Linked DNA regions of Homo sapiens: region 1 is linked to region 2. Evidence: promoter capture Hi-C in 16 types of primary human blood cells and fetal thymus (Javierre and others, 2016). All regions are on one chromosome and are shown on one strand. Each heading gives the region's core, a stretch centred on a gene start or on the middle of the fragment in contact. The rest is flanking DNA. Distances are from core to core; before and after follow the strand shown.

Region 1 (5,381 bases), core at 1,827-4,326, 150 kb after region 2:
CACCAAGAATGAAGTGTCCCTCTATATGGCCGAACTCCACTCAGCAGAGCTTTCTTGAGCCTCTGCTCTGTGTCCAGCACTCTACCAGGCCCTGGGGACATAGATGCCCAGAACCCACCCTGGTCCTTGAGGTATTTTGGGGGCCCAGGCAGCAACCATACAGAATATGGCCAGGGCAGAAGGAAGCAGGGTCTGGAGTTGCCATGAGGAGGCCCTAACTCGGCCCAGGGCTCCGATGAGGTTCCCAGGAGGCTGAGTGACAGATGAGAAGACTTGAGCCAGACTGTAGGAAAAGGAGGTGTTGTTGGGGCAGTCACTCCTAAGAGAGGGGCTGACACATGCAAAGGCCCTGAGGAGAGTGGACACATGGGTGCCAAGCTCAGGGGCACAGGTGGTTTTCTGTGGCTGCAGAGTCCCAGGGGACAGCAGATGAAGGCGAAGCTAGAGTGCTCAGCAGACACCAAAGGGGCCTTGAGTGCCAGGCTCAATGTCGACCTGAGCCCAGTGGTTTCATCAGCCTCCAAGTGCCCCGCTGGGTGGTGCAGCCTTCCTGCCCCATCTGTCACCCATCCTCACGACTGCCTCCTCCCCGACTCACATTCTGTCTCCCTCTGGCCCAGCAGAGATCAGCGATGGTGTAGAGGTCTCCGATGTGCTCTCCGTATGTTCAGACAACAGTTATGACACATATGCCAACAGCACCGCCACCCCTGTGGGCCCCCGAGGGGGTGGCAGCCACACCAAGACCCTCATAGAGCGGAGTGGGCGTTAGCTGAAGACATGTCTGTCCCACCTGTACCTGACACAGAAGCTGGGGAGCCTAGGAGAGCTGGTGGAAGTGTGTCTGAACTCGGAGTGCTCTGGGAGCGGGCTCCACAGCCTCCTTGTGGGCTCCAGCCCCTTGTCAGCCGCAGCCTCTCTTGAGGGGGACTCCCTGTCTCCTGAGGCCCAGCTGGGCCAGGACTCCATCCTTTCAGATGCCCCTGCAGGCCTGGGGCTCCTTCTGGGAAGTATGGGGCCTAGGGCTTGGTCCCCCTCTTCTGAGGCCCTCTCCTGTATCCCGACCTGGAAGCTTTGATGGGTCATGGGCCATGCCATACCCCCTGTGGCAATGGAGTGTGTGGATGCTCACCTGTGCCATCTGTCCTCCTGTCTGTGCCAGGAGGCACCTGAGTTCTCTGCTGTTATCCTGCCCCAAGGGCCTGGGCCGAGCCTCTACCTGAAGCAACTCTGCTCTTCCTGTCAGTCTCAAAGCACAAGGAGGTTCAGCCCAGGAGGAAGCCAGCTGCAATGTGGAGACACGTCCTCCTCCCCAACCCACCTCATGCCACCGCCAACCCCCTGCCCCAGGAGCGGGCCTGAGCCACGTCCTCTAGGAGCAGCTGGAGATGGCCAAAAGAGTGAGCTCAGGACTACTGGATCCCATGCCCAGGTGTCCAGCAGACCTCAAGGCAGAAGGGTCACCTAACCCAGGAGTCCACAGACTGATGTGACCTCAGGTTCCCACATCAGTGGCCACAGGGCAGGGCCCACCTGGTAGAAGTGTTCTGGATATGGCCAGGGTGGGTGTGTGGCTAAGTGGGCCTGAACAGAGGGAACCTAGGGCCCTTGGCCAATGTGATTAAAGCTGCCATCTTGATGTGTGTTGTCTCTGAATTGCCAGCAGGAGGGTGGGGACAAGTGCGCTGGGTCTAGGTTTCAGTTCTGACCCTATAATCTGAGGAGGAACCATTCTCAGGAATGAATGGGAAAGTGGCAGAATGGTGCCTCCCCTTCCCTGGGTCCGCCATGGTGCCAGTGGCTGGGAGCCGGTATCCTCATATGGTGGATGGGGAGACAGTCTTGGAGAGGTAAAGTGACCTCCAAAAGCCACACAGCTTAGAACAGGCCAAGCCAGAATCCCATCCAGACTCTGGCCCCAGCGCATATGTGTGCCTCCCATAAGCTAGGAATGACACGCAGAGGGGGAGGGCTCCTGGGTCCAATGTAGGGCTGGGAGTGGGACTGGCAGGTGCCCTCACAGCCACATGAAGGCATTCTGAACCTCCCGGCTATGTTGGGACAAGCCCTCAGCACAGGGAGGCCTCTTCCCCATGCCAGGAGTTTGGCTTTGACTTCTCCGAGCTTTGGACCTGCCTGAGGAGGGCCCATGCCCATGCCCAGGACTGGGGGCACCTGAGCTGAAAGCCAAAGTACAGCCCTGGGACCACAGGTGTCCTTTCCTTCCAGTCCTTGGGACCTCTGCTGTCTGTGGGCAGGAGTCAGTGGTGGTGTCAGAGCAGGCCTGTAACTCCCCTCTTTGTCCTGAGAGTCTGCCTGGTCATGGGTGTGACCTGAGGGAAAAGGGGGAAGCTGAGCCCCAGCTCCAGCCTGCATCAAATTAACTCCATGCTTCCTGGGAGCCAAGGGACGTGTCTCTTCCAAACAGGGATCTTCTGGATAGAATTCTTGGGGTCTAGGAGATTCTGGCACCTTATAGGTAAAAAAGAAAAGAGCCCTCTGCAAATGTTGGAAGCTCCACTGGGCCCCCACAGTAACCTCGAGGACCGGCCCTCCTGCCCCTGCTACTGAATGTCTGGCAAGTGCTCTGCTTCCTGGGGCAGAGGTCAGCTCCCGCCTCTCCCTGAGCTCAAGGGAATGAGACTCAGAGCCACTGTGCCCCCCGCCCCACATGCTTAGTCACATTGGCATCTACATGGTCACACAGCCACATGTCCACACGCAGCCCAATGCTACACAGTCACTTCATTCCATGTACTTCCACAATCACGCATAGTCACCCTGAAACCTACATGCCTACAACTGCATGATGACACCCCTCCCACACCCCAACTCCAGCACCACACACCTTCGAACCCATCGTCATTCCGGGACAAGGCCAGCACCAGGTCACCCCCAAACCCAGGCATACCAAATCCTGGAGTTCCACACACAGTCAATCCCACTCTTATGCCCCCCCTTTCTTTCCCTCCCTCCCAGGGCTAGTCCAAGAGTGGAACAAAAGCCCAGCATCCCCCTCCCTGCTCGCTTCTCCCTTCCCCTCCCTTCCCCTCCCTCCTGGCGTCCAGCCCCTTTGTCCTCCCGCAGCTGAGCCCGAGCGAACAGCAAACGGGAGTCTGGGCAGAGCAGCATGAACACTGGAGCTTGGGCTGCCAGGGGTGCGGGCGGCAGGCACAAACGGGAGTGATACCTGTGAGAGCAGCAGCTGCGGAGCACTTGGGAGAGGGTATGGCCAGGTAAGTGCCAGGTGCATGGGGCAAGGCTTAGGCTGCAGGGCTGACCCGGCTGCGTGGTGTCCGCAAGTCTGAGATGGGGAGGATGCGGAGGAGGTGCTTGGGTAATGGCTTCAAGTGGATGTGGGTGTGTAAAAGAGTGATGGTGGCATGTTCGAGTCAGCTTCTATAGGCTGGGCCCTTCAATCTGCATCATGACCCCTGGCTTGAAGTGCCTAGACTCAGCCGAGAAGGGAGGATACCCATTGAGCCCTACCTGGGAATTTTTACCTTCTGTGTTCCAACTGGGTGTCGTTTGACCCCCAGACTGGGGATCCCCAGAGTGAATGCTGGATCTGATGTCACTGTGTGTCCAGAGTGCCCAGCGCAGTAGACAGTAAAATGAAAAAGTACTGACACACTTCCTAGGAGGGGACTCTTTCTCCCCCAGGGAGCTGCTTGTGCTGTGGGGCACCTTTGCAAGAAGTCCATCCTTATGCTGATGAGACCTGCCCTCTTGAGTCTCAACTCAGAGCATGGTTGTGCTTTCTGAGCCAGTGGAGGACAGACTGGTTGCAGCGTGCTGTGATGACCGGTCTCACTTCCTTCCACCGGTCCTGGCTGCTCCTTGGGACACACCCCCACCCTGGCAAGTGTGGCATGCAAACCCTGGAGCCAGGTGGATTCAGGATCCAGTCGCTCTACTTGGGCAAAAGTAGTTAACTTTCTTGCCCACCAGGGAGCTCATCTCTCATGATGCTGACCAGGGGATCCGCTGCCCTGGATGACCAGGGCATGAAAGCCAGGCTGACACTAGGCGGGATCTGACCTCCAGAGGCAGCAGAGCAGCTGGGAGCAGGAGGATGGAAGGAGAGGCAGGGCGCAGAGGGTGGACCTGAGCCCCCTAGAGTAAGCTGATGGAAAGGAGGGAGCTCCCTGTCCCTGGAGGTGTGCAAGCAGAGGTTTTGTGTTCATAATGGCCAAATCATAACCAGCATGGCCCAGCCCCTCAGTCTGCAGAGCGCCTTCACAAACACCCCTCTGCTGAGCCTCGCCGCAAACTTCTGAAGGGCGGGTGTCCTGTGTGTGCTTGTTTCCCTTATGACAAACTAAAGGGGCAGGTGTGGGCTAAAGAAACTTCTCAGCTTGTGAGGATGAAATTAAATTATGTCTATAAAAGCAACTGGCACACACAGTGTCCTCCCTTCCTCTTGAGTAAAAGCAATATAGGGAAACACCCATGTAGCTCGTACTGTGTACTAGCACTTTTCATACAGCCCATGTAATAGTCATGAAGCCACAGCCCTGTGAGGTAGGGATGATGATCCCATTTCAGATGAGATAACTGAGGCCAGGGCGGGCAGGTGAGAGGAGTGACTTGCCCCGGCCACACCGTAAGCCTGTGGCAGGCACTGGGTTAGAATCCCCATTTGTCCCTAGAGTTCTTTCCACTTTCTGACGGTGCTACCTGGAGAACACCAAGAGAACTCACTAGAGAGAGGGCCAGCTTCCCTCAGCCTGGGCTCTAACCTTTCAGAATTCGCCCATCCTTCTCAGCTGGAAGGTTCCCCTCAGGGACGCCCTCCCTGACTCCCCTCCACCTGGGTCCAGCGGCCCTTCTATGAACTCCCCTAACACCCGGTGCCTCCCCATGGCACCCCCGCCAGGCTGGGAGCTCCGGGCACACCGTAACTATGGTTGTCTTGCTCACTGCCTGGCACAGAAAGGGCTCCCAATAAATACTTGTCGAATTCGTTTGCGCGAAAGCTGTGTGTATGATGCTGTCTGTCAGGGGAGTGCTCAGGGTGTGGTCAGTGTCCAGCACCTACCGGAGATCGGCAGGAGACAGGCTGGATTGAGCAGAGGGCGGTGGAGTTATTGTACCCTCTCTCCCCTGCACATGCACACACTGGGTCTCTGTGGGGCAGCCTGAGTCCCTTGACCCAGGGCTTCAGCTCCTGTCACGGGACCCTCCTTACACAGATATATTTCCAGGTTCCAGTAACTTCCCTGCTCTCCCGCTACAGACCCCGGGGCGGCCAAGGCGCCCTGCTGTTAGTATCCTGGGACACAGCCCTACTCCTACTGGAGTCCCTAACGCCTACTCCGCTGTTGAAAATAGTTCCTTTATTAGACCCTCCTCCGATTACCCTGTTTGAGAGCGTGCCA
Region 2 (5,348 bases), core at 1,905-4,404:
AGTTCGAGACCAGCCTGGCCAACATGGTAAAAACCCTGTCTCTACTAAAAATAAAAAAATTAGCTGGGTGCGGTGGCAGGCACCTGTAAACCCAGCTACTCAGGAGGCTGAGGCAGGAGAATCACTTGAACCTGGGAGGCAGAGGTTGCAATGAGCCGAGATTGTGCCACTGCACTCTAGCCTGGCTCCAGCCTGGGCGACAGAGCGAGACTCGGTCTCAAAAAAAAAAAGCGTGTGTATGTGTATGTATGTATGTGTGTGTGTATATATATATATACACGTATATATATATATACACGTATATATATATATATATATATATATACGTGTATATATATATGTGTGTGTGTGTGTATGTATATCTGAAGTCCCCATTCATTTCTCCGTGCAGCAAGCTTGTCCTTAGCATGCACTTTGTGCCAGGCTCAGTGCTGAGCACTGGGGTCACTATGGGAAAGAATATTATGACAATAAAACATGGTATGGGATGAGGCCCTAGGACAAGTCAAGACCTGGCTTTGAGAGGCCAGTGAAGAGAGAACACCTGGCAAGAGCAGCCAGGAAGGCTTTCCAGAGAAAGTGGCTGTGGAGTTCTGATGGAGTCTAGGCAGTCCAGACAGGGCAGACAGGGCGGCATGGGTGTGGCTGAGGACCGGGTAACGCTCCCTCTGAAAGTCCTTGAATGAAAGGAATCTGGTTTGCATGAGGACTTGACCAAGGGTATGGCAGGTCTCTGGGGTGGAAAACTAGGACGAGGCAGGGGTGATCCATTTTCTGAATTCCAGGAAATCAGGGAGGGAGTGGGGGTGCGTCCTGTGGGCTGTGATTGTGGGGCTGGCAGGCCGAGGAACAGCCACAGCCAGGCTGTGGGGAGGACGGCTGGGAGCTGCCAGCGGGCCTGGGGCTCAGCCTCAGTCAAAGATGGGTCCGGCCGGGATGCCACTGGCAGGGGCCGCAAGGCCATATTACAGCCTCCCTTTCAAAGCCCAGAGCCCCCAAGAAGCTAGGGTGGAGGCTCCACCAGTTGCCCCCACCAAAGCTGGCTCCCAAGGAATACTGCTATCCCTTTCAAAGGAGCTCAGCTCAGTTCTTACAGGAAAATCATCAGAGGAAATACAGTATGGAGGACACCCAAATAGTCTAGTTTTCTAAGCAAGCCTTCCCCATCCAACTGGCCCCAAGCCTGCCTCCTCACCCCGTTCCCAACAGCACTAGGGTTTTGTCTATACACACACAAACACACACACACACACACACAGAGAAAGAGAGAGAGAGACGTTTCTTCACAGTGAGGTTGGCTTTTTTTGGCCCAACACAAAAGTAGCCCTCAGAGCTTGCTGCCATATGAGCTCCAATAGTCAGAAACCTGAAGATAAGACAAGGCCACATTGAGGCTAAAGAATTGCGTGTGAAGGTCGGGCTCGATGGCTCACGGCTGTAATCCCAGGACTTTGGGAGGCCGAGGTGGGTGGATTATTTGAGGTCAGGAGTTCAAGAGCAGCCTGACCAACATGGTGAAACCCTGTCTCTACTAAATATACCAAAATTAGCTGGGTGTAGTGGCAGGCACCTGTAATCCCAGCTACTTGGGAGGCTAAGGCACGAGAATCGCTTGAACCTGGGAGGCAGAGATTGCAGTGAGCTGAGATCTAGCCACTGCACTCCAGCCCGGGCGATAGAGCGAGACTCTGTCTCAAAAAAAAAAATCGCATGTGGACACCTTCCTCCTCCTCCCAGTCCTTCCTCTGACCCACACACCAGGTCCCATGACACACACGTTTCCACAGGCCAAGCGAACCGTGGCGCCATCTCTGAGAAGCAGAACAAGGTTTCCCTGAGGGCCTCCGAGACACCCGGGGGCAGATGTCCAGGCCACTGGCTACCAAGGCTTGACCTCTGAAGAGACGTCTGGAAACAGGGCCTGGTAGTCAGCTGCCCTGGGGCTGGGGGGAGGATGGTCACAAGCCCCACATGAAGGACGCTGCGCTCCCTCAGAGAGTGTCAGAATGGAAAGAGATGTGGGTCCTGTTCCAAGCGTTGCGGACTTAAGAGGTCAGAGAGAATCGCCCAGAAAAAGTTCAGAGGGGCTGGCCCGGAGCTGTAAGGAGGAACCAGGGAACTGTGGTGCCCGGAGTGATTCAATCAGGAGACAGTGAGGCCGGGTCGAAAGCTGGGAGGGCCGGCGCAGATGAGGACTGAGGGGTGGCCGCTAGATCTGGCAGTTTCTGCTATGAGCCCAGAGCCAGCCCCTCAACATCTTCATTTGCAAGCCGGTCCTGACGCACAGAGCAGCGCCTCTGAGCTGCAGGCCTTCCCAGCTCAGTCCAGTCCAGCCCTCCACTACCCAGAAAGAAGGCCCAGTGCGGGAGGAGGGGCTCTGGGTCCCCATCTTGGGGTGGGGCAGGGAGGGCGGGGGCGCACCCGACTCTCCTGGCCCTTCTTACAAGCAGGCTTCACTCGAGGCCTAGCTCCTCCCTGCGGCAGCCACTTCCCAGTCTCCCGCGGCGTCCCCTTCCCCACCTCTCCCTCCTCCCTCCTCTCCTTCTTCCTCCCAGCTGCGGGAACTCACAAAGCAGGGGCGACCGCAACCCCGCAGTCCGCGGGCTCCCGCGCCCCTGCTGCAGCCGCCCGGGGAGGGGAGAGGACGGCCCCGCGGCGCCGCAGAAAGGGCGCCCCTACGCCGCGAGGGGCAGGGAGTCGGGGGGTCTCTGGAATGGGAGGCTCCCCACCCGGCCCAGAGGCAAAGGCGACCCGCTGAAACTGGATGGGCCGGCGGCGGAACTCCGACCCGAGAGTCCCACTCCGAAGATGCCCAGGCTCGGGAGGGCGTCTCCGCCCACAGAGCCCCGCTACCAGGGCTCTCGGCTCGGAAACAGCAGCCCCCGTCCCCGCGCACTCGCACAGCCCCCCGCCTGCAGGCTCATCTCCGGCCCCGCCCCGGGCTCCGGGCTCCGCCGCCCGTGCAGCCTGGCCCCGCGAGACCTCGGGACGCGGGATCGGGCCGGTGGGAAGGATAGTGCCCTGGCGAGGGTGGGCGAAAGAGGCCCCGGTATCTGCGCTCTGCCTACCCGCTTTGGGCCGCTAGAAGGCCTGGCTGGGAGACCCTTTCCGGGAGCTGGGCCGAGGCCTCTCTGGAGTCCCCGGTGGCTGGTCTGGGGAAAGGCCGCGATGTTAGTCCTCACACAATGGACCCCACCCGTGATACCTGCCGACGCCCCACACGGCCTAGGCACCTTGTGCCATATTGGGGGAGCGGGGAGACGGTCTATGTGGACAAGGGACAGGAGCCAACTCGGACTGGAGCGACACTTTCGGGAGTCTGTGCCGCTGAGTGGATGGATGGTCTAGAGGAAGTGGGTGGGAATGCACTCGGGTTGACCCAGTTCTCAGCCAGAAACCGGGAAATCCTTTTCAGTACCAGTCTCCGACCCTCAGCTTCCAAACTATCAGTAAGACCTGCCTGGCCTTCCTGCTAAATAGCAAATTTGCCCACTTTTCACTATCTCTATGGCCACCCCCTCTTACCTCACCCATCTCACAATTTGTAATTCAGTCTATGCATCACAGCATGGCACTCAGGTGTAAGAAATGCCACGTCTTTATTTTGGTAAATCTAATTAAATAGACTGGGAGCCCCCTTCTCTCGTTGCCACGGTTGACAGGAAATCTGATATTAGTCATTTTCCTGGAGCCTCATCCTGTCTTTGGGGCTTATCACAATTCCAGGAGGTTCAGGCCATCCTGAGAAGAATCACTATGGCTTCCCTGAGCCCAAGCCGGGGGGCTGGCAGCCCCTCTCCCTCTCCCTAGGGCTTGGCTGGGGACCTCCCAAAGCCTGCCCAGGTTGTGGTATTTCTGCCCAGTTTGCCCAGGCATTCCTATAGCTTCCACATCTGAGCCCATCCCTCAGAGGCCCTGCAACCCAGCCCGCAGGCGCGTGGCCCTTTCTGCACACCTTCATTCCCGGAGGGAAGCCACTCCATCCCTCATCCATCAAAGCACCTGCACTTTCACTCCCTCTCCACCTTGGGCCATCAGTTCAACATCCTCTGCTGGGTGTGGTGGTGCATGCCTGTAGTTCCAGCTATTTCGGAGGCTGAGGCTTGAACCCAGGAGCTCAAGGCTGCAGTGAGCTCTGATCATTCTACTGTGCTCAAGAGCCCATCTCTTGAAGTGGGGGGAAAAGGGGAAAAATCCTCTACGGCGTTTATTCTGGTTCTGGGTGGGCCAGGGCTTCACTGTTTTACATTCCCACCCACAGTGTAGGAGGGTTCCAGTTTCTCCACATCCTTACCAACACTTGTTATTGTCCATCTTTTTCATGTAGCAGTAATTTCTTTGGCTTGTTCCAGAATCTTACATTTTTTTCTTACATAAAAATTGGTATCTAATAAATATGAGTAGATCTCTATTGTTGTGTGGATTAATGGGAATCCAGGAAACAGCTTGTTTTGGCAGGAGGATGGACTCAATTTGGTGTCCAGACTTCTGGACATGGTGGTCTGAGACTGGGAAAAGGGTCTGAGCTGAAGGCGGAGATGCAGACCTCATTGAAATGTGAGCCTCGCCAACCCACAGAAGGTAAAAAGGCTATGAGAGAGGGTGAGTTTACCCAGCAGGAGTGTGGAAAGCGAGAGACGGATGGGGTCAGGTCAGAGCGCTGGGAAACACCCACATTCAGGGGACAGGCAAAAGAAGGAGCCCCCAAGTGGAGGCTGCCCTAAAGCAGCAGAGGAGTCAGAAGAAAACTAGAAAGGAATGTCACCTTGGGGAAGACATCAAGGATGAAGAGTTAACAGGGTTAGAGACCATAACGGCTTCCCTGCAATATGGATTTAGAATCTGTTGAACAAAATGGGCAAAATGTCGTTACATATTGAAGTTTTGTGATGGGTACTATTATTTATTTATTTTGAGATGGAGTCTCACTCTGTCGGCCAGGCTGGAGTGTGGTAGTGAAATCTCCGCTCACTGCAACCTCCGCTTCCCAGGTTCAAGTGATTCTCCTGTCTCAGCCTCCCGAGTAGCTGGGACTACAGGCGCACACCACCACGCCTAGCTAATTTTTGTATTTTTAGCAGAAACAGGATTTCACCATGTTGGTCAGGCTGGTCTTGAACTCCTGACCTCAGGATCTGCCCGCCTCAGCCTCCCAAAGTGCTGGGATTACAGGCGTGAGCCACCGTGCCCAGCTATGTGTACTATTATTTAATTGTCATGTATGTTGGAATTTTTTTCATAGGCGCGAAATTAGTTTTTTTTGTTGTTGTTGTTGTTTTGAGATGGAGTCTCACTCTGTTGCCAGGCTGGAGTGCAGTGGTGTGATCTCGGCTCACTGCAACCTCCGC

What was found. Contacts are between HindIII fragments. The CHiCAGO score rates a contact against its expected background, and 5 or more counts as called.
Region 1: the fragment with the promoter of KLHL35 here is called in contact with the fragment with the promoter of MAP6-AS1 in region 2 in 1 of 17 cell types (endothelial precursors); the score reaches 5.6 in endothelial precursors.

The regions. Positions count from the first base shown.
Region 1 is chr11:75,430,898-75,436,278 of GRCh38, reverse strand. It overlaps KLHL35 (kelch like family member 35), which reads left to right and starts at 3,076. Exons shown (of 7, transcript NM_001039548.3): 1 at 3,076-3,236. GDPD5 (glycerophosphodiester phosphodiesterase domain containing 5) reads left to right here. Exons shown (of 17, transcript NM_030792.8): 17 at 624-1,639. The coding sequence ends at 772. RefSeq lists an enhancer at 3,552-4,438. The HindIII fragment of the contact is 7,064 bases long and covers 1,075-5,381 here.
Region 2 is chr11:75,581,002-75,586,349 of GRCh38, reverse strand. It overlaps MAP6-AS1 (MAP6 antisense RNA 1), which reads right to left and starts at 3,154. Exons shown (of 2, transcript NR_145823.1): 1 at 3,069-3,154. RefSeq lists an enhancer at 1,541-2,120 and silencers at 2,867-3,016, 3,027-3,136. The HindIII fragment of the contact is 6,298 bases long and covers 398-5,348 here.